4 separate regions of the Homo sapiens genome follow, and regions 1, 2 and 3 are each linked to region 4. The links are contacts of gene promoters, found by promoter capture Hi-C in human tissues and cell types (Jung and others, 2019). All regions are on one chromosome and are shown on one strand. The core of a region is centred on a gene start or on the middle of the fragment in contact, and the rest is flanking DNA. Distances in the headings are between cores, read along the strand shown.

The links. The method cuts DNA at HindIII sites, captures the fragments that hold promoters and counts their contacts. A contact is called where the count stands out against the background at its distance.
Region 1: a contact is called between a fragment that was not itself captured here and the fragment with the promoter of SLC25A4 in region 4, in 1 of the 25 tissues and cell types used here (spleen).
Region 2: a fragment that was not itself captured here is called in contact with the fragment with the promoter of SLC25A4 in region 4 in 1 of the 25 tissues and cell types used here (aorta).
Region 3: a contact is called between a fragment that was not itself captured here and the fragment with the promoter of SLC25A4 in region 4, in 1 of the 25 tissues and cell types used here (dorsolateral prefrontal cortex).

Annotation. Positions count from the first base shown.
Region 1 is chr4:184,056,329-184,062,560 of GRCh38, reverse strand. LOC107986330 (a long non-coding RNA gene) reads right to left here. Exons shown (of 3, transcript XR_002959824.2): 2 at 2,468-2,689. Among named protein-coding and RNA genes, the nearest start is that of STOX2, 150 kb to the right of the region's middle. The HindIII fragment of the contact is 5,119 bases long and covers 1,754-6,232 here.
Region 2 is chr4:183,839,339-183,845,914 of GRCh38, reverse strand. It overlaps a transcript of STOX2 not described here. Among named protein-coding and RNA genes, the nearest start is that of STOX2, 63 kb to the left of the region's middle. The HindIII fragment of the contact is 3,239 bases long and covers 1-2,905 here.
Region 3 is chr4:186,150,724-186,157,019 of GRCh38, reverse strand. FAM149A (family with sequence similarity 149 member A) reads right to left here. Exons shown (of 14, transcript NM_001395294.1): 4 at 4,975-5,117; 5 at 3,250-3,375; 6 at 2,382-2,552; 7 at 830-1,020. Among named protein-coding and RNA genes, the nearest start is that of FLJ38576, 38 kb to the left of the region's middle. The HindIII fragment of the contact is 5,374 bases long and covers 1-4,333 here.
Region 4 is chr4:185,140,244-185,146,178 of GRCh38, reverse strand. SLC25A4 (solute carrier family 25 member 4) reads right to left here and starts at 2,913. Exons shown (of 4, transcript NM_001151.4): 1 at 2,696-2,913; 2 at 929-1,415; 3 at 280-420. The coding sequence starts at 2,806. RefSeq lists a silencer at 2,842-3,141. The HindIII fragment of the contact is 7,904 bases long and covers 1-5,935 here.

The DNA.
Region 1 (6,232 bases), core at 3,064-5,563, 1.1 Mb after region 4:
GACCAGGGCTCCTTAATTTCCCAGGCCTGAGTCCTTCAGAGGTGTGGGACCTCCAACCAGCGACTTGAATTTCGTGGTTGTTACCGTCTTTGTCTATAAACTGTGGAGAGGGGCAGGGTGGGCATTAAAAGACCCTACCAGGGAGAAAATCCAAGGGTTCTCAAGCAAGACTTTCAGTGGACCGTTGCGTGAGTGAGTGTGAGCAGGAAGAGAGAGGAGAGAACGGGCCAGGGTCATGGATGCAAATTTTATCTGCTGGACTAAACTGACCAGGTGTTCTGGTTTCATGTAAACCCAGCAGGGAAGACAGGCAATGCAATGTGTAAGGTTTTAAGTGCAACATGGAGCTGTTTCAAGGATTTCCTGACATACTTAGGCCATGATAACAGGGCCCTGGGATACGGCAGTTTTCAGAAGGATGTGCTGGGAGCAAATTTAATCTTGTGCCTGGTTTTGGGGGCTCTTCTTTCCTTTCCAGCCATCTCTCCAGAAGCGTTCTCTCCCAGCCCAGCCTTCCCTGCCTCTCACCAGGGCTCAGGAAGTCCTCTGCTATGGAGAGGGCTTAGGCAGAGGCCTTGGGTGCTCCACAGATGGCAGATGGCTGTTCCTCCCTCTCTGCTCTGCAATGCCCTTTCCTGGACAGGTGATGCTGAGTGGTGATGCGTTAACTGCCCCTGGGCAGGGAACTAATGCCTGAAAGATCTCACTAGAATGCGGGAGGAGGGAGCTTTGAGGCAGGGCTGTGAGGTCTTTTTCCCCCCTGCCCCACACAGCTGGTCACCTCCTCCACACATGGGGCCAGCCCAGGGTGAGGCGCTAATCCTGAGACTTGCCCCTTCTCAGATTTCTTTCCACTCAGAGGAGCGAGTAGGCCATCCCTCATGAAGCCTACGCAAGGCAAAGCTTCCCAGCAAGGGCCCCGATGGCCTAACTCAGAGCTCCCGCTTCTGTCCCTCCTTCCAAGTCCCAGTCTTGGAAGGTGCAATGGGGAAGAGAAAGTCATGATTCCCATGTTCAGGGCAAGAAGAGGAAATCGAAAATCTTTTGCTCTTTCAACAATGCTGAAAGGCAACAGAAGCCAAATCACGGCAGAACCTGAGTCTGCCACTTAATGTACAAAACTCGCTAGAGGAGCAGTTCACCCTCCATATCTGTGGGTTTCCCATGCATGGATTCAACCAATGGCGGACTGAAAATATTTGAAAAGAAAATTGCATCTGAACACGTCCAGACTTTTTTCCCCTTGTCATTAGTCCCTAAACAATACACGATAACAACTCTTTACATAGCATTTGCATTGTAATGGGTATTATAAGTAATCTAGAGATGATGTAAAGTGTGTGTGTATAGAAGGATGTGAGTAGGTACAAGTATTGCACCTTTTCGTATCAGGGACTTGAGCATCCTCAGATTTTGGTACCCATGGGAGTCCTGGAACTAATCCCCCTTGGATACTGAGGGACAACTGTATTTATAATTCACCTGAATTGTAAATATATTTTCTCATTCTTGGGATTTTCTTTCTCTTTTTCTGTATTTTAAAAATAGACACAGAGTCTTGCTCTGCCACTCAGGCTGGAGTGCAGTGGTGCAGTCACAGCTCACTGCAGCCTTCACCTCCCGGGCTCTGGTGATCCTCCCACCTCAGCATTCCGAGTAGCTGGAGCTACAGATGCCTGCCACCACGCCTGACTAATTGTTTATGTGTATTTTTTGTAGAGGTGAGGTCTTGCTATGTTGCCCAGGCTGGTCTTAAACTCCTGGGCTCAAGTGATCTGCCCACCTTGGCCTCCCAAAGTGCTGGGATTACAGGTGTGAGCCACCACAACCAGGCTTTCTTGTAATTTTGTTAATAACTTTTTTTCTCCAGTTTTCTTTCTTGTAAGAATAGAGAATATAATAAATATAACACAAAGTATGTGTTAATCAACTGTTTATGTTATTGGTAAGACTTCCGGTCAACAGTAGGCTATTAGTAGTTAAGGTTTTGTGGAGTCAAAAGTTATACATGGATTTTTGACCGCACAAGGGGTTGGACCCCTACCCCTGTCTTGTTAAAGGGTCAACTGTATATGCAGGATGCTGTGAGAGCATGAGGGGAAAGAATTGAGCCTTTGCATGGGGGTTAGGGGACATTCCCAGGAGAAGAGACCCCCAGGGCTGAGCCTGGAAGGACCTAAGCAGGTTGAGGCAGCACCCAGGGCCTGGGGAGAGCAACACAGTCACCAAATGAGGACCCTGGCAGAATCCATTCCAGGAACCTTGGGTAGCTCTGTTTGGTTTCCCTGCAGCTCTGAGTCTTCAATCTCTCGAGAGTGGAATGGCACCGAGATGGTGGAGTGGGGCTGAGGTTCAATCCAGTCCTGCCCCTGACACCTATTAGCTATGTGTAAACCCCCGTGAGCCCGCACACCCCCGCCCCCTACACATTTTGGTGTAAGTGCTCAAGAGTTTTCCTACCCCTTACCTTAGAATCAAGAGGTCTCAGCGGTACACAAAGATCTTAAAGGCCTGCGGTCAACAAGGCAGCACCCCAGGGGCCCCCAGGAGCTGGTTCACATCTCAGTGGAAAACCTGACTCAGGTCTTTCTAGGTCTTCAAGCTTCACTTGGGGAACCGTGTCTTCTGCACTTTGCGAACGCTGGTCCCCACCGCAGCACTTCCGTCACTAAGTGTTTACTGGGAAATACTGAAGTGAGAAAGTTAGAACAATATTGTTAAGAGTTTCATTTTTTATGATGCAAAATTTATTCAATGACAAAATTCACCCTTAATTTTGACAGTGTATGTTCTCCCTGCTGGGAGGAGGTATGTGACATTATACGTCCTTTTTAACGAAATGGTTGTAACAGTAGATGACAGGATTTTTTCAAATGCCTTTTCTTGGCAAAATTATCATTTGGTAACTCCTGTCAAACTCTTAGTTTTTATTTTGACTGTTCCCAGTTGATGAAATCTCAAAATCTGGGGATCATTGAATTGGTCATTCTAGAACTGAAGTTCTGGGACTAGGTCTCAACTCTCTCTTCTTAGTCAGAAGTAATAGATTAGGCCTATGGCTCAATTCCGAGGTACTTAAGATGCATTCCTGTGGGGTCTGCCAGGATAGCACAGACTATGCTATAGTAACAAATTAAGCATAAAATCTCAAAGGCTTAATACAAAAACAAAATTATTTCTTACTCATTACACATCCACCATGGGTCAACAGGGGTTTGTATACTCCGCAAGGTCATTCAGGGACCCAGGCTGATGGAGGCTTCACTATTTATAGCTGCACTTTCTGAATGTGCTTAGAAAGTGCACATGACCTCCGAAGACACCATGAAATGTGAAGAGAGGACTGAAAAGCCATGTAGGAGCTTTTATGTCCAGGCCTAGAAGTGACAAACCTTACTTCTACCCAAATCCCTTTAGTCAGAACTCAGTCATCCTAGCCCAGTCTGCCAGTAAGGGAGGCCAGGAAATGCAGGGGAGCACGTGGATATTCAGTAAATACTAAATGCTTCTGCCGTATCAGGACTATAATCGGAAAGAGAAACTGAACAGGTAAATAAAGGCAAGACAGCAGAGCATTTTTATTTCCAGGTTAAAATGTTAGCACACTACCCTATAGGCATCAGAGAACATGAGGGGATTTAAAACAATTAAACTAGTCCCAGTATGAAGAACGGATTAGAAGGAGAGGCACTAGAGTCAGGGAGACGAATTAAGAGATGTTCTAACAGTGTTGGCATTTGGTAACAAGATCTGCATTAGTGTGATCTAAAGGGGAGTGAAAAGTAGGGATGAGCATGAAATTTTCAGCCGAAGATTAATTACATGGAAGGTCAGGATTGAAAATCCAGATTTTGGAGTCAAGAGGCAATACTTGAAACCAAGAGACCCTGCCAAAGGAGAGAGGAGGGGGCTCCACGCAAGCTCTGCTGCCCCTTGGCAAGGCAGTGTGTGGGGGCGCGGACGGAGACCGAGACTTCAGCTTCCTCGAGGGAGGTGAGTGTTGAGAGGGCGAGATTTAGACTCGAGCATTCTGTCTTTCTGAAAATGACTTACGTAACCTTCAGATAAAGGGACCAAGAATAAAATCAAGATTTGTATTTCTGTATAAGTTTGGGGCTTTCTATATTTTTTCAACTTATCTAAATTGAAGACATATTACCCTTGTAATAAGATTATAATGATTTAGTTTAAAAAAGAAAAGAAGAAAAGTAAGATGTCAAATGAAAAGCAAATTTCCTTCTCCATCTACTGTAAAACTAACAATTTTCCCCTGAAAGTCATGTGCATTCTAGTCCCGTGTCTTCCATCCTCACATGCATTTCCTGAGAACCCAGCACCCCATGGGAACTGGATGTGAGGGCTGCTATGAATGAATACATCACAGCATACACACAGAAGCACAGACCACATCGTCACGGGCGACTCAGTGACTCGCTGTCCATCTTTATCAAACCATTCTCCCACCCATAAATTGATGAATTACACTTACTGTTTGGAATAGAAAATATATGCACTGGATGCGTGAGAAATTTTCCTTTCCTTTTCTTCTTCTTTTTTTTTTTTTGAGACGGAGTTTTGTTCTTGTTGCCCAGGCTGGAGTGCAGTAGGTATGGTCTCAGCTCACTGCAACCTCCGCCTCCTGGGTTCAAGCGATTCTCATGCCTCAGCCTCCCAAGTAACTGGGACTACAGGCGCCCACCACCACATCCAGCTAAATTTTTTGTATCTTTAGTAGAGACAGGGTTTCACCATGTCGGCCAGGCTGGTCTTGAACTCCTGACCTCAGGTGATCCGCCCACCTCAGCCTCCCAAAGTGCTGGGATTACAGGTGTGAGCCACAGTGCCCAGCTTTATTTTCCTTTTCTACTCTTCCTAAACCCCTTAGGCCACGCACTTCACATTTTTATTTAATGAAGCTACTCTTTAAATACCAGGCATTGCAAAATATGAGCTGTTGGGTGTAAGACAAGGGTGACCCATTCAGAACACAGAGGAATAAGCAGAATTATCCCACTGCTGTTTTTTGTTGTTGCTGTTTTTTTAAAAAGCTCACAGTGTGCGGCACTGGCAGAATTAAGAGTCTGTTGTCTTTGTGTATAAAGAATGACACCCTATTGAAAACACAACGTGTTCTGGGTTCATGTTTGACAGCCTCAATCCATGGATCACTTTAGGAGTCTCCTGTATCAATACTCACGATAAACAAAGTGATAAAAGACCCCGGAGCTGCAGAGCAGTGTGCTTAAAAATGTGGGCTCTGGATTTAATCAGATTAGAATGCAGAATCTGCCTCAGCCACTCACTCGCGAGTGACCCTGGGCAAGTCACGGAGCTCTCTGTGCCTCGGTTTCCTCACCTGTGAAATGCCAATAACGCCTCCCACCCCCTGGGGCTGCTGCAACTATTGAAATTCACAAGCACGTCAAGTGCTTAAGCACCTGCCTCACACAGGATGAGTCGTCCCCAGATGGAGAGCCTTTTAAAAAACTGCCTCATCGGCAAGAAACGGACCCTCAAATGTCTCAGTGACAGGCACGGGGCTCGGCACAGGCAGAGCCATCCCCACACAGCCCTGGTTCCCCGAAGCTCCTGACACGTGGTGGGAGATAAGCTTTTTCACACTGAGGGGAGCACAGCAAGCTCAGCTTAGCTCAGTGTTGGAAGTTTCGGGTGGGAATGTATAGGGGACCTGCACAGACCAGGGCACAGTAGGTAGCAGCTTGGCCAGTCTTGGCCCTAGCAGAGAGGTCAGAGAGCAACGCAGTTCTAGAGCTGCCATCATGGGTCCCTGGTTGGGATTTCCCATGGCCTTCTATGCGAGGGATTTGCCATATGGGGACACTGTCATTCCAGGGCTGTGGCTGAATCGCCAACTCTGCCTTATGCCTCTGTTTAGCCACCGATGGCCTACAGGATCTGCCTTTCCTCCACCGCATGGAACTCCCAAGAAAGACCTGCAGCTGTGGCAGGCACCAAAGGCAGCTTGCATGTATCTAAAGCAAACTGGTTATCTGAGAATTGCAATACATGCCTTTTTTTTTTTTTTTTTTTTTGATGATGGTTGGGGGAGGTGTCTAAGATGCTTCTGAGGCTGTTGGCCCCTAGTGCAAGTTTGAAACATTCAGGCGCCATGTATTTCTCTATTTAAGAACGTTGATTTGGGATATTTCAAAGCTGACCATTGATTTCTCTTAGCACATAGTAAACAATTCTAAATGTCATTGATCAGAAA
Region 2 (6,576 bases), core at 37-2,536, 1.3 Mb after region 4:
GAACACTGTTAAGTACATATTATAAGTACACTACATAAGTACATATAAAAGTCAGTATTAAAGTATATTTGACTATTAACTCCTTTTTTCTGTAAGATTTAAAACATAACCACATAAAAGTTACAAATCTATGTCAATGGGAACACATCGTATAAAGATGTAACTTAATAAAGCACATATGCAGAGGAGAACTGTAAATCTGCAGCAGAATGAGAGATTGCATTCCCAAAGCATTGAATGGTGGATGGTCCCCTGGAGAATACTTCTCTTTTTGCTGTATCCTCTCCACATCACTTCTCTATTATCTTCATGGCCTTTACAGGTATGTGAGTTTGCAACTCCCTTGTTCAAAACTGCTGCCAGATTAGCACACTTCTGCTTAGAAGCCTCAGATGGCTCTCCACTTCCAGCAAAAAAAAATTCAAGCTTTATGGCCTGGCATCAAAGACCTGGAAGATGTGTTTCTTTTCCATCTTTTTGTCCTCATCTCTAATAATTCCATGTGATATATTCTATCTTCAAGGTAAATTGAACCACTGACTGTTCCTATTTCCATTCTTCCCATGCCATATCCCACCTGGCTTAAGCTTTTCTGAAGCTTTTCCGGCTCTGGATGGAATGATCTTCCCCTGCCCTGAAAGTGCACAGTCCATCCATCCCTATCCCTAGTCCTTATGCCCTTTATCCATCCCCTACCCAGAAGCCATCTCTCCGTCTTCTGGACTCCTGTACCACTTTAGCTGAACTTCTGTGATTGTACGTATTACTGTCTATTTTGTATTTACCTATGGTGGACATTTCTTATCTCTCCTTTTTAAACTATTATAGAGCCATCTCTACAGTTTGGAAAGGTCACCTGATTGGGAATCTAAGGAACTGTGCTACAGGCAGCCTTGGGGAGACTATTATGTTTTCTATGTTTTAGTTTCATCATGAATGAAATGGAACCAACATCTGCTTCATGAGATTCTTATGAGGATGTAATGATGTCATTTGTAATCTGTAAAGCACTGTGCACATGTGAAATAACATTTTAGCCTTGGGGTCAGAGTCCATGTTTTAGTCAACTTTGTATGTCTAACAAATTACTCAAGACATAGTAGGCGAGGTGCTCAATACACTTTTGTAAAATGAATGAACATGCTAACTCCTTGGTGAGATGAAGCTGAATCATTTAAACCAATCTACACGCATTTTCATTAATAATCTTACAGTCCTACCTACAGTCTCTCCCAGAGGTAAATAATGAAAGAACTTTTTAATAACTGCAATTAAATGACCCACCTTGAGTTTTAACACAATCAATGGCTTATTTTATTACTAACATGACTTTTTTGATATCCCTGAGGTAAAAATTCTCTGTACTCAGGGCTATTTTTTCACAATTCACACAATTTGACAACCAAATTGTCAAAAGTAAGAGAAAAAGAGGTGACTCCATTTAGTAAAGCAAAACAATACCCTGCTTTTATTTTTAAAATATTTTTAATATAAAAGGATTGTTTGAGTGAGTAAAACTGATAATTTTATAGTAAAATAAATCAATGCTCACCATGGTTTCACTCAGCTACAAATGTCAGGCAACCTAAAGAGAGAAATGAGTTCTCAGGTTTTTTTTCTAGGAAAACAATTGTTGCTTTCCTGAAGACATTTTTCAGTACCAAAATATTCAACCGGAACATGGGAACTCTCCAAGACAGTGTTAAGGGTTGGAGGAAGAAAATGACTGCCATCCTCATATCTACTTGCAATGGGGTGTCCCTTTTTCAGAGATTTATATTCCAGAATACCAACAAATACAAATTCACCAAATTGAATAATAATTTTGTTTTTTTAAGAAACAATTATTAGATTGCTTTTAAAAAGATTAGAAATTCGGATTGGGTAGAAGAACACTGGGAGTAGATGCAATTAAATAAGTAACATTAAAGAAAAGTAAACATAATTTATTTTCAGAATTTTACACCTACACTACATAAACTATGATTTACGTATAAAAAATTAAGTAAGTAAAAGCAAAAGTACAGAACTGTGGGTCAACTATAATTACAATTATTATAAGATACAGTGACGTATGAAGAAAAGAACATGGATTATGGAATTAAAGATGAGTTTCTCATCCTTTTGAAATGTTCTTTCATGGTATTACCTTTATAATAACTAAAACTCAAAGAAGAAAAAGAGCCGAGAGTATCTTTTTGCTAAAATCAGAAAAAATCAAAACAATATTTCATCATATGTGAAAATTATATGGAATCCAAATTTTGGCATGCACAGAGCTTTACTGGAACACAGCCACGCTCATGCGATTTCCATAATGTCCCTGGCTGCTTTTGTGCCACGGCAGCAGAGCTGAGTAGTGGTGACAGAGACCATATGGCCCCACAGTCGAAAGCATACACTATCTAGCCCTCTGTGGAAAAAGTTTGCCAACTCCTGATCTAAAGTTCAGTGCCCAGGAAGGTACACAATGTTTCTGTCTACATTTGTGGCTGAACAAGTCTAAAAATTGAGTGGAAATATTTAGTACTTAAGCATAAAAATGATTTCATCTTCTATTTTGGTGTTTTTCACACTGAGTTCTGCGGAGTCCTACGGGTCAGGGTGACGTCTCTGTGTGAACTGTGTGGCCAAGGTTCTGAGATTCTTCTCCCTCCTCCCAAAAAGAGTCATTCTGCTTTTATCCTTGCAGATTGGGATACCACCTGCAATTTTATTTTAAAAACATTTTTCTTTTTCTTTTTCTTTTTCTTTTTTTTTTTTTTTTGAGATGGAGTCTCGCTCTGTCTCTCAGGGTGGAGTACGGTGGCGCGATCTTGGCTCGCTGCAACCTCTGCCTCCTGGGTTCAAGCAATTCTCTGCCTCAGTCTCCCGAGTAGCTGGGATTACAGGCACCTGCCACCATGCTTGGCTGATTTTTGTATTTTTTAGTAGAGATGGGGTTTCGCCATCTTGGCTAGGCTGGTCTTGAACTCCTGACCTTGTGATCCACCCGCCTTGGCCTCCCAAAGTGCTGGGATCACAGGCGTGAGCCACCACACCCGGCCTGAATAACATTTTTATTTCAAAAAAAAAAAAAAAGAATTTAAAACTCACTGTGACCTATTTTATCTATGAGAGATGACTGCAGTGTCAAGCAAGTTTCAAAGGCCATATATGAAAAGGAACCATTATGAACCTAAAACCACACAAAACCGGACTGAAAACCAATCAGCCCTATTTGCTGAGCACTATGTCGTGAAATGAAACATAGGCAGCCAACATGGTGTATGAGGACTTCAGTTTTCTCACAGAGCACTTTCCTCCACCACAGCTTAACCCCATGTGCACACGGCCCTGCTGTATACTTTATTAAATATATAAAATTACAGAGCAATTTGATTCACATTCCTGTATTATTGCCACACATCCATTTTCCTGGGGTTAGCGAAATCAAAAACTAAAGAAACTACAAACAGGGTGGCAGAGTACCTATAATTTATTTTTATAACTAATGAGCCATTAACAGGTACTTGAGGAGGTAATTAAAGGGAAATTGATAGGAGCTGACTGTGAGGCTTGAAGTTTTCATGTTTGCTTTTTTAGTAAAGCAATAGTCTTCTATACTCCATTCAAAGCATCTGAAAAATGAGTTTAGCCACGTCGTATGGAACTAGTAAACTGATATAGACTAGGTTCCATCTAAAAAAGCAGATCTAAGACATTCCTACAAAGACTGAGTTTTGCTGAATGCCTGGGGCAGCCAGTAAGAAGACTGGTCTCTTCAACACTCAAATCTGGAAAGGTGGTAAGAGCTACTAGGGAAATGAGGAATTACCTGTGTGATATTTTAATGAATATATGTGGCAATGAGCATGAAAGGATCAAGTGGCTTCATTATCCATCTAACTTTTCTTACAGGGATTATATGAGGAAATTCATTACTTAAGCCACACACTGGCAAGGACACAGCCCTTGCTGAAAGTAAGGCTGGTATTAATAATTCCACAGTCAAGTTTTTTTTTCCCATATAAATGACTCTTTCAAATTGTATGACTCTATGGGAAAATTAAATTCCCACCATAAGCATTTACCTTACCCACTATTTTCCAATATCTTGATTATGCAAAGCCAACTTAGTATTTGATTTCATCATTCATCCAATAAGAAATTCCTAAAATAAGAGTTGCTCTGTATAATCATCTGGCATGTATTTTGGAATGCCTTAATAAGCTGTGTATTTTTTTCTGTCTCTATTTTCTCAACTTCTTACCTATTCTAAAAAGTTGTTTTAAATGTTCAAAAATAGTGAGCAAGGCAACTTACAAATGAACCTCATTTTAAAATAAGAAGCAGGCTGAGCACAAGAGATGGAGGAAGAAATCGCACGCTACCAAGGGTTCTGATGATTTCATAATACTACGGCGTGGCACAGTGGCTCAAGCCTGTAATCCCAGAACTTTGGGAGGCCGAGGAGGGAGCATCTTTTGAGGTCAGGAATATAAGACCAGCCTGGGTAACAGTGCAAGTTCCTGTCTCTCTAAAAATAAAAAATAGTAATAATAATTAGCCTGGTATGGTGGCATGCACCTACAGTACTAGCCTGGTGTGGTGGCATGCACCTATAGTACTAGCTACCCAGGAAGCTAAGTCTCCAGTAAGCTATGATCACACCCCATACTCAAGCCTGAGCCACACAGCTAGAACCTGTCTATAAATAAATAAATAAATAAATAAATAAATAAATAAATAAATACTACGATGAAAACTGAACCGGGCGTGGTGACACACGCCTGTAATCCCAGCACGGGAGGTCGGGGCGGGCAGATCACTTGAGCCCAAGAATTTGAGACCAGCCTGGGCAACATGGTGAAACCCTATCTCTACTAAAAATACAAAAATTAGCCGGATGTAGTGGTGTGCACCTGTAATCCCAGCTACTCAGGAGGCTGAGGTGGGAGGATTGCTTGAGCCCAGGAGGCGGAGATTGCAGCGAGCTGAGATCCCGCCACAGCACTCCAGCCTGGGCAACAGAGTGAGACCCTGTCTCAAAAAAAATAACAGAATACAATGAGTGAAACTCTCTCCCGCAGATCCACAGTGTGCAGTGTCTCTAAGAACACACTAACCACATCACTGAACTTTTTTTGTAGTCAGACAAAAAGATTAAGACCAAGTCTCAAGCCACTGAAGAGGGGCTCTGGCAAGTCTGAAATATGCATATGAGCTAAGCTTCAGAGTATGAGAATTATGAGAATTTCCATCAAATCTGTTTCTTGTGTTATAATTATCCTACAAGGATTTCTAGGAGACCGAGGGGAAAGCATGGCAATTTTATGCAGTCAAAATACAGCAAATAACCACTGCCACACACTCACCCCACACACTTACACACAAACACAAACGTGCAGAAAACCTCTGGTTGCCATTAAGTGTGTCAGGAAAGCATCACCAGTTTATCTGCAGTGATGAAGGGGCTACGTCAGATGGCTTCTGCCATTCTTCGCTTGCCCCCTGGTGGCCAACCACCTAAAGAAGGGCTCAGAAATTACCGAGAGAATTCCTCCTTCAGAGAACAGGAATTGACTGTTACATGGACAAAGAAAAGACATTTGTAACAGAACACAGAATTGTACAAATGGGTTAAGAATCATTATTTTAAATAATCCATCCACTCTCAAAAATTCAGCTTTTCAGACACATTGTCTATTTGTAACAATAAGGTATTAGAACGTTCCAATCTAAATACAAAAGACTTGATTCCAAAAGTTACATTATCAATTTTGTTTTCACAACAAAGCGGAGAAAAACTACATGCTTACATTTTTTGGCATCCCTTTTCCCCTAGTTCTTGCCCCCACAACCAACACACACACACACACGCGCACACACACACAGAGTCCATGAAAAACAAAGAAATCCTTGCACGCTGAGTGTTCACAGACCACAGGCCTTTGTGTTACTCGAAGGCAACATTTTACAAAAGGAAGAACAAACAAAACCCTTAGAGCGTTGGCCAAAACTCGCTACAGACTCAGTATCAACAATATTTGTAAATCCGAAAGTTTATCATTTCATAATTGATGTTTAAAAGTTAAATGGATTCTTTACTCATGCAATCTGCACAACATTAGGTGCCACATCACCATATGTAACTTATGGGAACCAAAACAACTCACATATATTTCAAATTCTTTCCATTATTAATTAATAGAAATTATCAGAATGTCCGAAAAAGAACATGAAATGCAAAGTCAAGAGGACACAGTTCGCGTTCTGGCCTCATTCACTCACTCTATTACTTTGCCCTGTAGACTTGCACACAGTCACAGTAACTTTCTCAACTGCAAAATTAGGGACTCGCATGGAGAAATCCCCTCAGGTTTCCTGTAGTACTAATGCTGGTTGTTCTAAAAGGAACAGCGGATGAGCCACAACTTTCCATTTCCCTCGTTCATGGTGCCCTCAAGTGGTTCAGAGTAAAAATAAACTTTTGTTGTGTGTGTGTTTTAATTCTTGCCTATATGCAGGAGAACGTTAAAGTCAGTGGCACCCAAACTTTTCGGATCAGTGTGATGGTTAATTTTATTGCCAACT
Region 3 (6,296 bases), core at 397-2,896, 1.0 Mb before region 4:
TAGCCTTGTTCTTGTGTATCTGTGTGTTTTCCAGACTGCATATGCACTGCTATTTTTGGGGGAGAGATGGTCTCGCTTTGTTGCCCAGGATGGAGTGCTCACTTTCAATACTGAATTCCTGAGCTCAAGGGGTCCTCCCATCTCAGCCTCCTGAGTAGCTGGGCCTACAGGCATGTGCCACCATGCCTGGCTAACTTTTTATTTGTATTTTTTGAAAAGACAGGGTGTTACTATGTTGCCCAAGCTGAGCTGGCCTTGAACCTCTGGGTTCAAGTAATTCTCCTGCCTTGGTCTCCCAAAGTTCTGAGTCACCATGCCTGCCCTGCATTCTTTTTTTTTGAGATGGAGTTTTACTCTTGTTGCCTAGGCTGGAGTGCAGTGGTGTGATCTCTGCTCACTGCAATCTCAATCTCCACCTCCTGGGTTCAAGCAATTCTCCTGCCTCAGCCTCCCGAGTAGCTGGGATTACAGGCACATACCACCACGCCCGGCTAATTTTTGTATTTTTAGTAGAGGTAGGCTTTCATCATGTTGGCCAGGCTGGTCTTGAACTCCTGACCTCAGGTGATCTACCTGCCTCGGCCTCCCAAAGTGCTGGGATTACAGGCGTGAGCCACCGCACCCAGCCAGCCCTGCATTATTTTTTATAACACAAAAAACAATAGCGTCCTTTTTGAAGGGACTAAAGAGCACTCATGAGTAAAGTCAGAACACCCACTTGTCTTCTCACTGGTCACGTTCTAGGTCTGGCCAAGCTGGGGAGCAGGAGCCCAGGGCCGAAGAACAGGGACTTTTTCTTTTCATTAAGCTAAATTCTGCATGTAAGTACCTGTGAGTGTAGTTTCCCAGTGTTTTCTAATCAGCTCTTCCAAAAGTTCTACCATATTTGTCCAGACGTGATCAAACACTTCTGCTGCCACGGCATCTTTGACACAGTCACGCGGGGAAACAGGAGGAAGTCCGAGTTTGCGCCATTTCCTACCGGGCTGAGCTGGTTTTTGTTCAAGACATTCATCATCACTAAGAATAAAAACCCACTCCAATTACTAAAAGATCAATGCTTAGAGTTAAAATAATTCTATCTACACACATTCACGTATGTACATGTATACATATATTAATAAACATTCTTTGTTAAACAGCATCGTTCTTTTTTAACATATATAATTTTTTTCCATTACACATGAATAAAAACAAGAAACCAACTCCTGGTTTCATTGATCTTTCTTTTTTTTTCTAGTCTCTTCATTTATTTCGGCTCTGAGCTTTGTTATTTCCTTCCTTCTACTAAGTTTGGGCTTAGTTTGTTCTTTTTCTCATTCCTTCAAGTATAAAGTTAGGTTGTTTATTTCAGATATGTCTTTTTTCTCAATGTAGGCATTTATTGCCATAGGCTTCCCTTTTAGAGCTGCTTCTACTGTACCCCATAAGTTTGGTTTTAATATGTTGTGTTTCCATTTTAATTTGTCTCATTATATTTTTTGATTTCCCTTTAGGTTTCTTCTTTGACCTACTGCCTGGTTGTTGAGGAGCAGGTTGTTTAGTTTACACATATTTGTGAGTTTTCTAGTTTTCTTCCTGTTATTGACTTTCAGTTTTGTACCACTGAGATCAGAAAAGATGCTTGATTTCAGTCTTCTCAAATGTGTTAAGACTTGTTTTATCAGTGTTACTTTTTAATGTGCCAATTTTCAATCACGGGGCAAAGTTTTATCATGTAATAGTTGTAGTTTTTGATTAAGAACAAAATACAAGGCTGGGCACAGTGGCTCACGCCTGTAATCCCAGCACTTTGGGAGGCCGAGGCAGAAGGATCACGAGGTCAGGAGATCGACACCATCCTGGCTAACACGGTGAAACCCCGTCTCTACTAAAAAAAAATTCAAAAAATTATCCGGGCGTGGTGGTGGGCGCCTGCAGTTCCAGCTACTCGGGAGGCTGAGGGAGGAGAATGGCGTGAACCCGGGAGGCGGAGTTTGCAGTCAGCCGAGCTCGCACGGCTGCACTCTAGCCTGGGCGACAGAGCGAGACTCCGTCTCAAAAAAAAAAAAAGAACAAAATACGAATTTAGTACAGAGGCAGGAACTCCCCTTAGGCCCTTTTGGGCAGCCAGGGCTGGGGAACCTGGAGCCCCCAGGACCAGGGCTGCGAGGAGCCTTGTCTGCTTTTACAAGGGCACTGAACACCCTCTTCGCTGCTCCCGCACGTGCACCGCTGGCTAGGAATCCAAAAGCTCTGGGGAGTACATTACTCTCAAAAGAACAGAAATCTTTTGGGTGAGTAAAAAATACACAAAACACTTAATGAGCATACGATAACAATAAATGTCAAATAAATTAATATTATTTTATGAGGTCAATGTCAAATAAGATTCTATTTACTCCTCTTTTCTGTCAAAAGCGAAATACTCCTCAATCTTTCCATCCACATGGTAAACCTCTTCTTCCAGGGATGAACGTGCCGTTAGGTCAGCAACCCCTGTGTCATCAGGGCCTGGCAGGGCAGAGGCTGAGAGTGCTGCTGGGACTATTTGAGAGCCAGAAATGCACAACCTATGGGAAAAAAACAGATTCTACATGGGAGTTTATAGAACACCAAGAACGCAATGCTTAAACGATCATGGCGGATCTTTCAATTATCTGTAAAGTACAGAATCCCCCCCTCCCAAAACGGTTGAATATTACATTGGACAAAACTCACGTCCTTAAAAACACTTTAATACAGGCATCATTAAACATTTTAAGGGCTTCTTAAAAGCCTAAATTATTCTATGAGTTTGTACCCTCTTTGGTTGCAGTGAAAGGACTGCATTGTGTCACGGCACACCAAATATGTGTGAATGGCATAGAGTCATCAAAATCTGCTAGTGAACAGAAACGACAGGACAGAGCTTCATTTCTCCTGCTGCCACCGCCTGGAGGCTTATAATCCATCACAGTGAGGCGGTTTCCATCCTGCACCCAGTCCACCTTTCACAGCGCCTTTGGAACAAACATGGAAGGTAACTACCATGTGTGTGCATGTGTGTTCCATATATATATTACACATCTCTCTATATACACACATATACACCTATCATCAATTCAGAATCAAAAGCTTCTTATAAAAATTGTTCTCTGTACCTGCCCTTCATCAGAATCTAAATTTCCAAAATGGGTGGAGCCAAGGCTTATAGATGAGATAAACATGAAAAAGTATAACTAAAATACAGCTAACAATACTTTTTGAGAGTCACTTATCTGAACATACTCTCTGATGTTGCTGCTGTGTCCGCAGGCACTGAGCGGGGGTCTGTGGACTGCGGAGGCAGGAGTGCTGCCCTGGAAATGCTGGACGCCTTTGTCAGTGGGCAGGATCAGCTGTCTTCCTAATACTCTGCGAGGTCAAAGAGAAGCTACTGACATTTTTGATCAGACAAAGGGAAAATGTTTGGAGATTTTAAAAGTAGGAGACAATGATTTTGAAGGCATGTGTATGATAAGATGTGTATGGGAACGTGGGAAGCATCACGCATCACAGAAGTGTGACTTTGAGAGTTTAGGCCAGACTGTTCTTCCACTGACTCAGTCTCAGGCAAGGTTCTCAGGCTAATTTCATTTGTTTGTCTTTCATTTGCAAAACAGGATAATAATGGTTACCTTGCAGGGCTGATGAATGGCTTAGAGATCATATATGACAGACTCAGGTGTCTAAGGCAACACTGGGCACAAAGAAGCCCTCCATACATATTAACTAATACACAGTTAAACACAAACATAACAAGAATACAAATATATAAATATGCACACTTGGCTTATGTACCTGACAATCTTTTCCCACCTTCCCTCCATTTCTATCAATGATGTAAGACAGCAGTGACAAGAATAAGTGTGAGCTCCCGAATTTCTGGTGAGTGATCATCCCCAGAAAAGTGAGTATCCACAACTAGTATCTAGTGGACATATCATACTCTTTAGGGCAGGTGGCTTATTAAGGGTTGAAAAGAAAAAAAAAAACAACCCTAGTTGGTCAAGATTTCTGTAAAAGTTACCTAGTGAATGTAACCAGGAAATCCAGCCACATTTACATGAGTGTTCTGATTCATTCTCCCCAGACAGAATCCACAGGAACTCAGGTAACTTTGATAAACTGTCCCCCAGTACGTTGGCTGAGTGACTGAAAGATAAGCTTGCCTTTGGCCGGGCGCGGTGGCTCATGCCTGTAATCCCAGCACTTTGGGAGGCTGAGGCGGGCGGATCACGAGTTCAGGAGATCAAGACCATCCTGGCTAACACGGTGAAACCCCGTCTCTACTAAAAATAAAAAAAATTAGCCGGGCGTGGTGGCAGGTGCCTGTAGTCCCAGCTACTCGGGAGGCTGAGGCAGGAGGATGGCGTGAACCAAGGAGGCTGAGATTGCAGTGAGCTGAGATCGCGCCACTGCACTCCAGCCTGGGCGACAGAGCAAGACTCCATCTCAAAAAAAAAAAAAAAAAAAAAAAGCAAAAAGAAAAGAAAAGCTTGCCTTCATACCCAATCCATATTCTCCATCTTTGATATGAAAAGTAACACATGCTCCTCCCTACATAAGGAATGGGTGAGATGGGAAGACCCATCTATCCAGCCGTTCAGCAAATCATCTCTGCCCACCCTCGCTGTGTTCTGTGATGAAGACAGACATGTGCTGCTCACACACAGTGAATGTGAAGGTAAGAGGTGGCCTCCACCATTCTTGCATTCGTATATGTGTCATGCCCTTCTCAGGATGGCCTGAATTTGCTTCTCACAAATTAAAAGGCGCTTGAGTACTGGAATGTCTCAGTATTTCCTCAGACGCCGTAAGAGGAAAGTGATCTCTCAGTGAAGGACTGCGCTCTGCATCCATATTCTGACTGGGCAGGCACTTTCACACCAAATGTACTGAATGTATCGAGGCAGGTCAGGGGTGGGTGCTTGGAAAACCCACCCCAGAGAACTTCCACCACCAAGGTCCCACCTCAAATGGAGGGATCTTCTTGTCCACTCCCCGCATTCGGCCAGCAGACTCTGGGTCTGAGGGTTCACTTTCCCTTCAAATAACATTTCCTCCACCTCCCAGAGTAACCGCTGCACTGACTGTGAACTGGCTTCGTCAAATTCCTAAACAGAAATGCACACTTGGTTACAACACTGCAAGTTACAGAACTGCGGGCTTCTGGATCAACGCTACTTATACATTTACTGTCACCCACTATGTAGGAGGGTGCATCACTTGGTAAAAAGATGGTGGCTTTGCAGTCAGACACACCTGTGCTCTAGCTGTTACCTTTCTGAGAAATGCCATCTCATTCTGAGCCTCGGATTCTTTTACTGTTAAATAGAGAAAACTTCTGCCACGGAAGTTATGAGACTCAAGAATTTGCATAGATAGAGGTATAGATGGACGTGTTCATACTGCCACAGACATCAGCGTAGACACACAGACACGTCCACATCTGTATGTCTGCAAACACAGGCAGCTCCTCACAGAGCTGTGCCTGACACACCTAAGCACACCTGCAAAATACAAGATTTTTTTTTCTTCTGGTGATACCACAGAAAAGAAAATTACTTTTGTAGAAAAGGCCATTAATCTCCTTAAATCAATGAACTGGAAAAAAAAATCCTTAGTTATCCTAAGAAGTGTGGTTATTAGGGTGAGGCCTGAGTATTAATGGAAGTTATACGAATTTCCCTGGTAATTCCATTAAACGTTGTACTAAAAGAATCCTAGAATTTGGACAGAGTAAAGCAGTGGTGCTCAGCCTTCTACCAAGGAAGGCGGGCTTGAGGGATGGTGGTGAGTGGGCGTAAGGGAGAGGAAGGAGGCAGCTGCCCCTAAGTAAGGGAGCTGCGTGCGTGAAAGGTCCTCCTAGCAGTGCTGAGCTGAGTCCCTTTCAGACCCCCTCGGTGCACCTGCCCTGCCGGCTCCCCTGAGAATCACAGCTGCACAGCTGCGGACAGAAGCGGATTCCCATGTGCAGTGGGAGTGGGGAACCACTTTTAAAGAAAGCAAAGAGGCTGGGCGCAGTGGCTCATGCCATGGGAGGCCCAGGCAGGCGGATCACAACGTCAGGAGTTCGAAACCAGCCTGGCCAACATGGTGAAACACCGTCTCTACTAAAAATACAAAAATTAACTGGGCATGGCGGTGCACACTTGTAATCCCAGCTACTCGGGAGGCTGAGACAGGAGTATTGCTTGAACCTGGTAGGCGGAGGTTGCAGTGAGCCGACATGGCACCACTGCACCTCAGCTTGAGTGACAGAGCAAGACTCTGTCTTAAAAAAAAAAAAGAGA
Region 4 (5,935 bases), core at 1,664-4,163:
GAAGAGGGCCTAGGGTCTCTATAATGCTGGATACCTAGTTAAATTCACATCTAAATGTCTTACTATTCATGTTCTTATCATCTCTAATAAAATGGAAAATACTTTTCCCTAATAGGATAGTTGAGAACGTTAGGGGGAATTAATACCATCTTTCTTCCCTAAGTCCTTATCAAATAATTTTGAAAATTAATTTCCAGTAAGGAAGACTGAAAGGAGCCCTGTAAAATGTTCTCCTCGGGCAAAACCAAACAAGTTTAGATGAGTAGAGCACAAGCTTACCCCCTTTCCGGCCGGACTGCATCATCATTCTACGACGAACAGTGTCAAAGGGGTAGGACACCAGCCCTGCGACTGCCGTCACACTCTGGGCAATCATCCAGCTCACAAAAATGTGCACGTTCTTGGGGTCAGGCAGCATCCCTGTGGACAGAGCCCAGAAGCCGAACGGCTATGAAGTGCCTGTTCTCAGCAGAAAGCAGGTGGAGGGAGAGAGGCCACTGCACCTCCAGCTCCATGCTCTGACCTTGCGGGGAACCTGCCCCTGTGCAGGTGCTTCACATATGACCAGGCAGACAGCAAAGGTGGCTGCTGCCCTCTCCGGACCCCGGAGGGGCAGTGCTCAGCTTGTATACAGGGCATTGGAAGTGGCTTCAAGTTAAACTCAGTAACTGCTATGGCTGTGTCTAGAGGGAGACAGGCTCCCCCCTCCTCCTCTCTGAATAACTAAAGGCCAGAGTTTATTTCAGTAGAGGACACAAGGAACGCTTCAGCTATTAACTTATGCACATCACCTCCTCATTCAGAAGCCTCAATTATCCCAGAGACTAGAAAAAACAAGATCAATATATATCAGGTCCTTTGTGAGTTATAGATCCCATAGGATCCTCTTTCCACACCACCCTCCTTCTCCCCGATGCCCCTCTCTCACCCTTGGCAGTATCATAGACTCCGAAGTAGGCAGCTCTATAGATAATGATGCCTTGGACAGAGACGTTGAAACCCTGGTAGAGCCCCCTCAGGCCATCAGACTTGAAGATCTTGATGATACAGTCGCCCAGACCATGGAACTCACGCTGGGCGGCGCCCTTGCCCACATCAGCAGCCAACCTGGTCCTAGCAAAGTCCAGCGGGTAGACAAAGCAAAGGGAGGTGGCCCCAGCGGCCCCACCGGACGCCAGGTTACCAGCAAAGTAGCGCCAGAACTGCTTATGCCGATCCACACCCCCTAAGAAGAGCTGCTTGTACTTGTCCTTGAAGGCGAAGTTGAGAGCTTGGGTGGGGAAGTAACGGATCACGTTGGCCAGGTTACCCCTCCAGAAGGAGAGGAAGCCCTGCTCCTTAGGGATTCTCACCACACAATCAATGATCCCTTTGTACTGCTTCTCAGCACTGATCTGTTTGCTGGCATGCTGGACCTGGTGGAGGGGAGGGTGGGTGACAGAGGACAGGCAGGGTAGAGAGAAGGGAAGAGGACAGGAGAAAAAAAAAGGTTTGCACTTCCTAGATTTTTTTTTTGAAGAAAAAAAGGATGAGGAAATCAAATGGATACTGAGGACGTGTAAATGGATACTGTTATCCATGTTAGTTACTGGATAACAAGCCAAAATAATCCAATGTTGCTTCAATTATTAGGGTATTTGAGGGAAAAGGTATTGCCCCAAATAAACTGAAAAGGTGATTGAATTATATAAAGCTATAGCCATTTATTTATTTCACTTTCCCTAGGTTTGAGAACTGTATGAGGGGCTTACTGGGGGACAGAAATGAGTAACACTCCCTGCTTCAAAGGGCTTTGGATTTAATAGACATGATGGCCAAAAAATGACAATTTCTCAGTGTCACTCTGATCACCCTGGAGATGAGGATCTCTACTAGATGCTCTAATAGAGGAAGGAGAATAAATCCACTAAACATTAGGCCTCCAAAGTTTTCAAGCAGATAATCCAAGTAATCAATTATTAAGGGTTTGCTGCCGTTGTGAGCAATTTGTGGGGGTTTTGTTGTTAGTAATTCTGACTCCCAAATTGGGCTCTTCCTCATTGAGGGGCCCTGACCTTTTGGGCAGGTGGAGGAAAACACGAGAGGATGATAAACCATTCAGCGACCAGGTAGGGGAGGAAAAGATTTGGAGACAGGATGATCTGAGTTTATTCCGAAAATTGTTTCTTAATATTTCAAAACCTCAGCTTCATCTGTAAAATGGAGAAGAATAACTCTCTCACAGAGGTTACATAAAGATGAAGGCGTCAGCCTACATACAGCATTGTGCATGAGATACGATAAGGGAATTCTTGGGTGATGATTATTTTGATGTTTTTATTGTAAAGGTGCGTGCGCATAAGACGGTGCCAAAAATACTGGCAATCACTAGGTGCCTCCGGGCCTGAGTGCACGCCCGTGCTGTCACGGGCGCAGGATCTGGCACACGTAAACCGGCTCCGGGTGGGTTTCCATATATAGACACCCGAACGCCGGGCGCCACCCGACACCAGGAATCTGCGACTGACGCTGGACCTGTCTCTACGCAGAGGGCACCTTCTTCCCCCGCGGGCGGGCGGGCGGGCGGGCGGGCGCCCGGGCCTGTGGCCTGGCGCAGATTTTCCGCGGCGCCCCGCGCCCTGCAGCTCGCGCCGCATCGCGCGCCCCGCCCGGCCCGCCGCGCCCGCGCCCGCCTCTTGCACCGCGCGGTCCTCACCTGCAGCAGCAGTTTGACCCTCTCGATGGGGGCGACCGCGGTCTTGGAGACGGCAGCGGCGACGCCCCCGGCCAGGAAGTCCTTTAGGAAGCTCCAAGCGTGATCACCCATGGTGACAGCTCGACGCTCTCAGCCCGCAGGCAGCCCGTTCGTGCTCTCGCCCACGCCCGGCCTGGCACCGCCGCGCAGTCCCCGACCCTGCGCGACGCTAGGGGGCCGCCGCCTGGCCCGCAGCTCCCCCTTATATCCCCGCCGGGCTCTCGCGAGAGGAGGCGGGTCGCGGCCGGCGCTCGCGCCGCGCATTGGCTGGGCAGGTGCGGGGCGCCCCCTCCTCCCAGCTGCAGAGGGCATCGGGGGCGAAGGCGCTTCCGGGAGCGAGGCTGGGCCGGGGGCTGTCCCTGCAACTTGGGACGTTTAAAGGGCACATTCATGTTATCTGTCCCGCCGAGCCCAGGGAACACCGTGTCACCGCGGCATGTGGGCCGCGTATTTATAGCACAGGCAGCCTTAGGCCGGGGCGAAGCCGGGGCAGACACCGGGCCGCTGCCGCCGGTGGAGAGTTCTTGACCCTCCGGCCTGCACGGGCCGCGCTCAGGCCCAGGGATTTCGAGCTGTTTCCTCCTTCTTGCATCTAAAGGCGCCCCCCACCAGAGCTCACTGCCTGGATATGGGCCTCTTTAGAGCCGTGCGCTCCCGAGAATAAATGGCAGTCCTCTCAAATAGATACTAAGGTCACCTGATGCTGTGATTGCCTCATAGAATCTGACAACCTGCTGCCTCTCATTTCTTTTCATTCAATCGTTCGTTCAGTCATTCATTCTGCTATTACATATTGATGTGTCTGGCACTCAGTGCCCACAGGAAAGACCTGGTGCAGGGGGCCACTAGGTGAATTCATACTTGTTTCTGCAAAACTCTGTGACTCTAAAACACAGGACACTTCTTTTGTAAGCCCCTAAAGGGTTCAATGTACCACTCTGCTCTCAGCGGAATTTCAGCACATATTAGGGCAGAATGTTCTGTCTGTCAGCCGGTGCCTTCTTGAGGGTCAGTGCTGTCAGCCTTCCGGAGATCCAGTCCTTGGCTGTATTTGCCTCTTTTTAATGACAGCTGGGGTTGAGGAAATGCTATTTAATCCCAGGAAATTAATTGCAATTAATTTCTTAAAATATATAAATCTGAGCTTTAATTTTCCTTAGCTTGTTTTTTAGGCAGTTCATGTAACCATACAGGTTTTCAAATACAACTGTTCCTTCCCCTAGAATGACTGCAATTCGTTTTTAACTTTAAACTCTTCACTCAATTATCTTCCCATGTTTGCTAATTTTCATTTGTACCTTTAACAAAGTTTATTCATTGTTTTATAAACTTTTTTTTTTTAATATTTGCTGACATCATGTTAGAGGTTTACGGAGCTGCAGCTGCGTGTCACCCTGGGCGTGGAGACTTTGGTATAGCAGAAGTCACTAAGGTTCCAGGGCCACAGAGGGCATGCGTTTATCTAAGAGTGGGGCAGGCTAGAGTTCCGAAATCCAGGTAAGCAGAATGAAAGCTAGAAACTAGTGGAAAGCTGCCAGAGGTCAGAGCAGACAGAAGTCAAGAACTCGGAAGAGACAAACAGATAAACCATGTATGTGTTCATTCAACAGACTCTTGCTGAGCATGTACTGTGTACCAAGAACTAGGTGTAGCCCTGTGGATTGAATATAAGTAGACGTGGCCCATCTCCAAAGACCTTACAGTTCAGTGTATTCGTCACTTGCTCCACTTTATCAAAACTTCACTTACTGATTTCCATGGATCAGCATAATCCACACAGTAAACCTTTTTAATTATAATAGTGTACTGTATCCCATCCTGTAATATAGAGCACTTGCTTTTATACCTCCATTTTCCTTTTAATTGTGCATTAGAATTGTGTCTTATTTTTATGATGAAAAATAGGCCGGGTGTGGTGGCTCATACCTTTGGGAGGCTGAGGCTGGCAGATTACCTAGGTCAGGAGTTCGAGACCAGCCTGGCCAACATGGCAAAACCCCATCTCTACTAAAAATACAAAAATTAGCCTGGCGTGATGGCTCATGCCTGGAATCCCAGCAGCTCAGGAGGCTCAGGCACGAGACCCCCGAGAGGCAGAGGTCATGGTGATCTGAGATCACTCCACTGCACTTCAGCCTGGGCAACAGAGAAAGACTCTGACTCAAAAAAAAAAAAAGAAAGAAAGAAAGAAAGAAAGGAAGGAAGGAAGGAAGGAAGGAAGGAAGGAAGGAAAACTAATACTGCTACATTGAAACTTACACAAACTTCATTTTCTCCTCTAAGTTTTTTCTTCTCATATATTTCCCAAATGGAATGGATAGATTTAAGATTTTTAAAGTTTTGTAGCTTTTGCTACATATTGACAAATTGCTCTTCAGAAATACCAACCCACCAGTTATATAGATGGGCTTTCTCTCACACTCTTCTCCAACACTGGCTTTAAAAAAATAGAGAGTTGGTTATTTGTGAGTTATTTATGAGTTTTAGTTTGTATTTACTTAATTACTATGAAGCTGTATATATTCCATATGATTCAATTTAATTTGACAGTTTGACAAGGTTTCCCTTTTGTATAAACTTTTAATCTTCCTTGACTACTGCTGGAGTGAAAGCAGAGTATTTATATTAACAACAATTCTTTATATATTTGGGACAATAAATATGTGTTGAATGTTTTTCATTTTGTTGTTTTCCTTTTGATATTTATTATATCATTCTATTAGTGTTATGAACAGATCTATGGTATGATGATGATCTATTTCATGTTCTGATGTAAATGTATCTCTTTTATAGATATAGCAGTCTATTTACTCTAGTACATATATCAGTTTTTTTCTTCTACTTTGAGTAGCTATTTTTAAAATGTCTAACACTACGTTTTATATTGTATGGAGGTATGGGTCTAATTTCACTTTTCTCCATATCATGCTTGGGTATCCCAATACTAATTCTTAAGTAGATATTTTCTTCTCTCCATTATTTGTCTTATATTACTAAGTCTAGTTTGTCATATATTAAGTTCTCATAATAGCTTTAATTTATGAAATATCCACACTATGACATATTTATTTGATCTTCATTTTTTAAAAATAGGCTGATATATGATTCTACAATCACTTAAAAAATAAAGTTTTATCTGCTTATGTGTCTGGATTTATTTTTACTATCAAGTTGTTCAATTGTTTAAACATCACCAGAAGA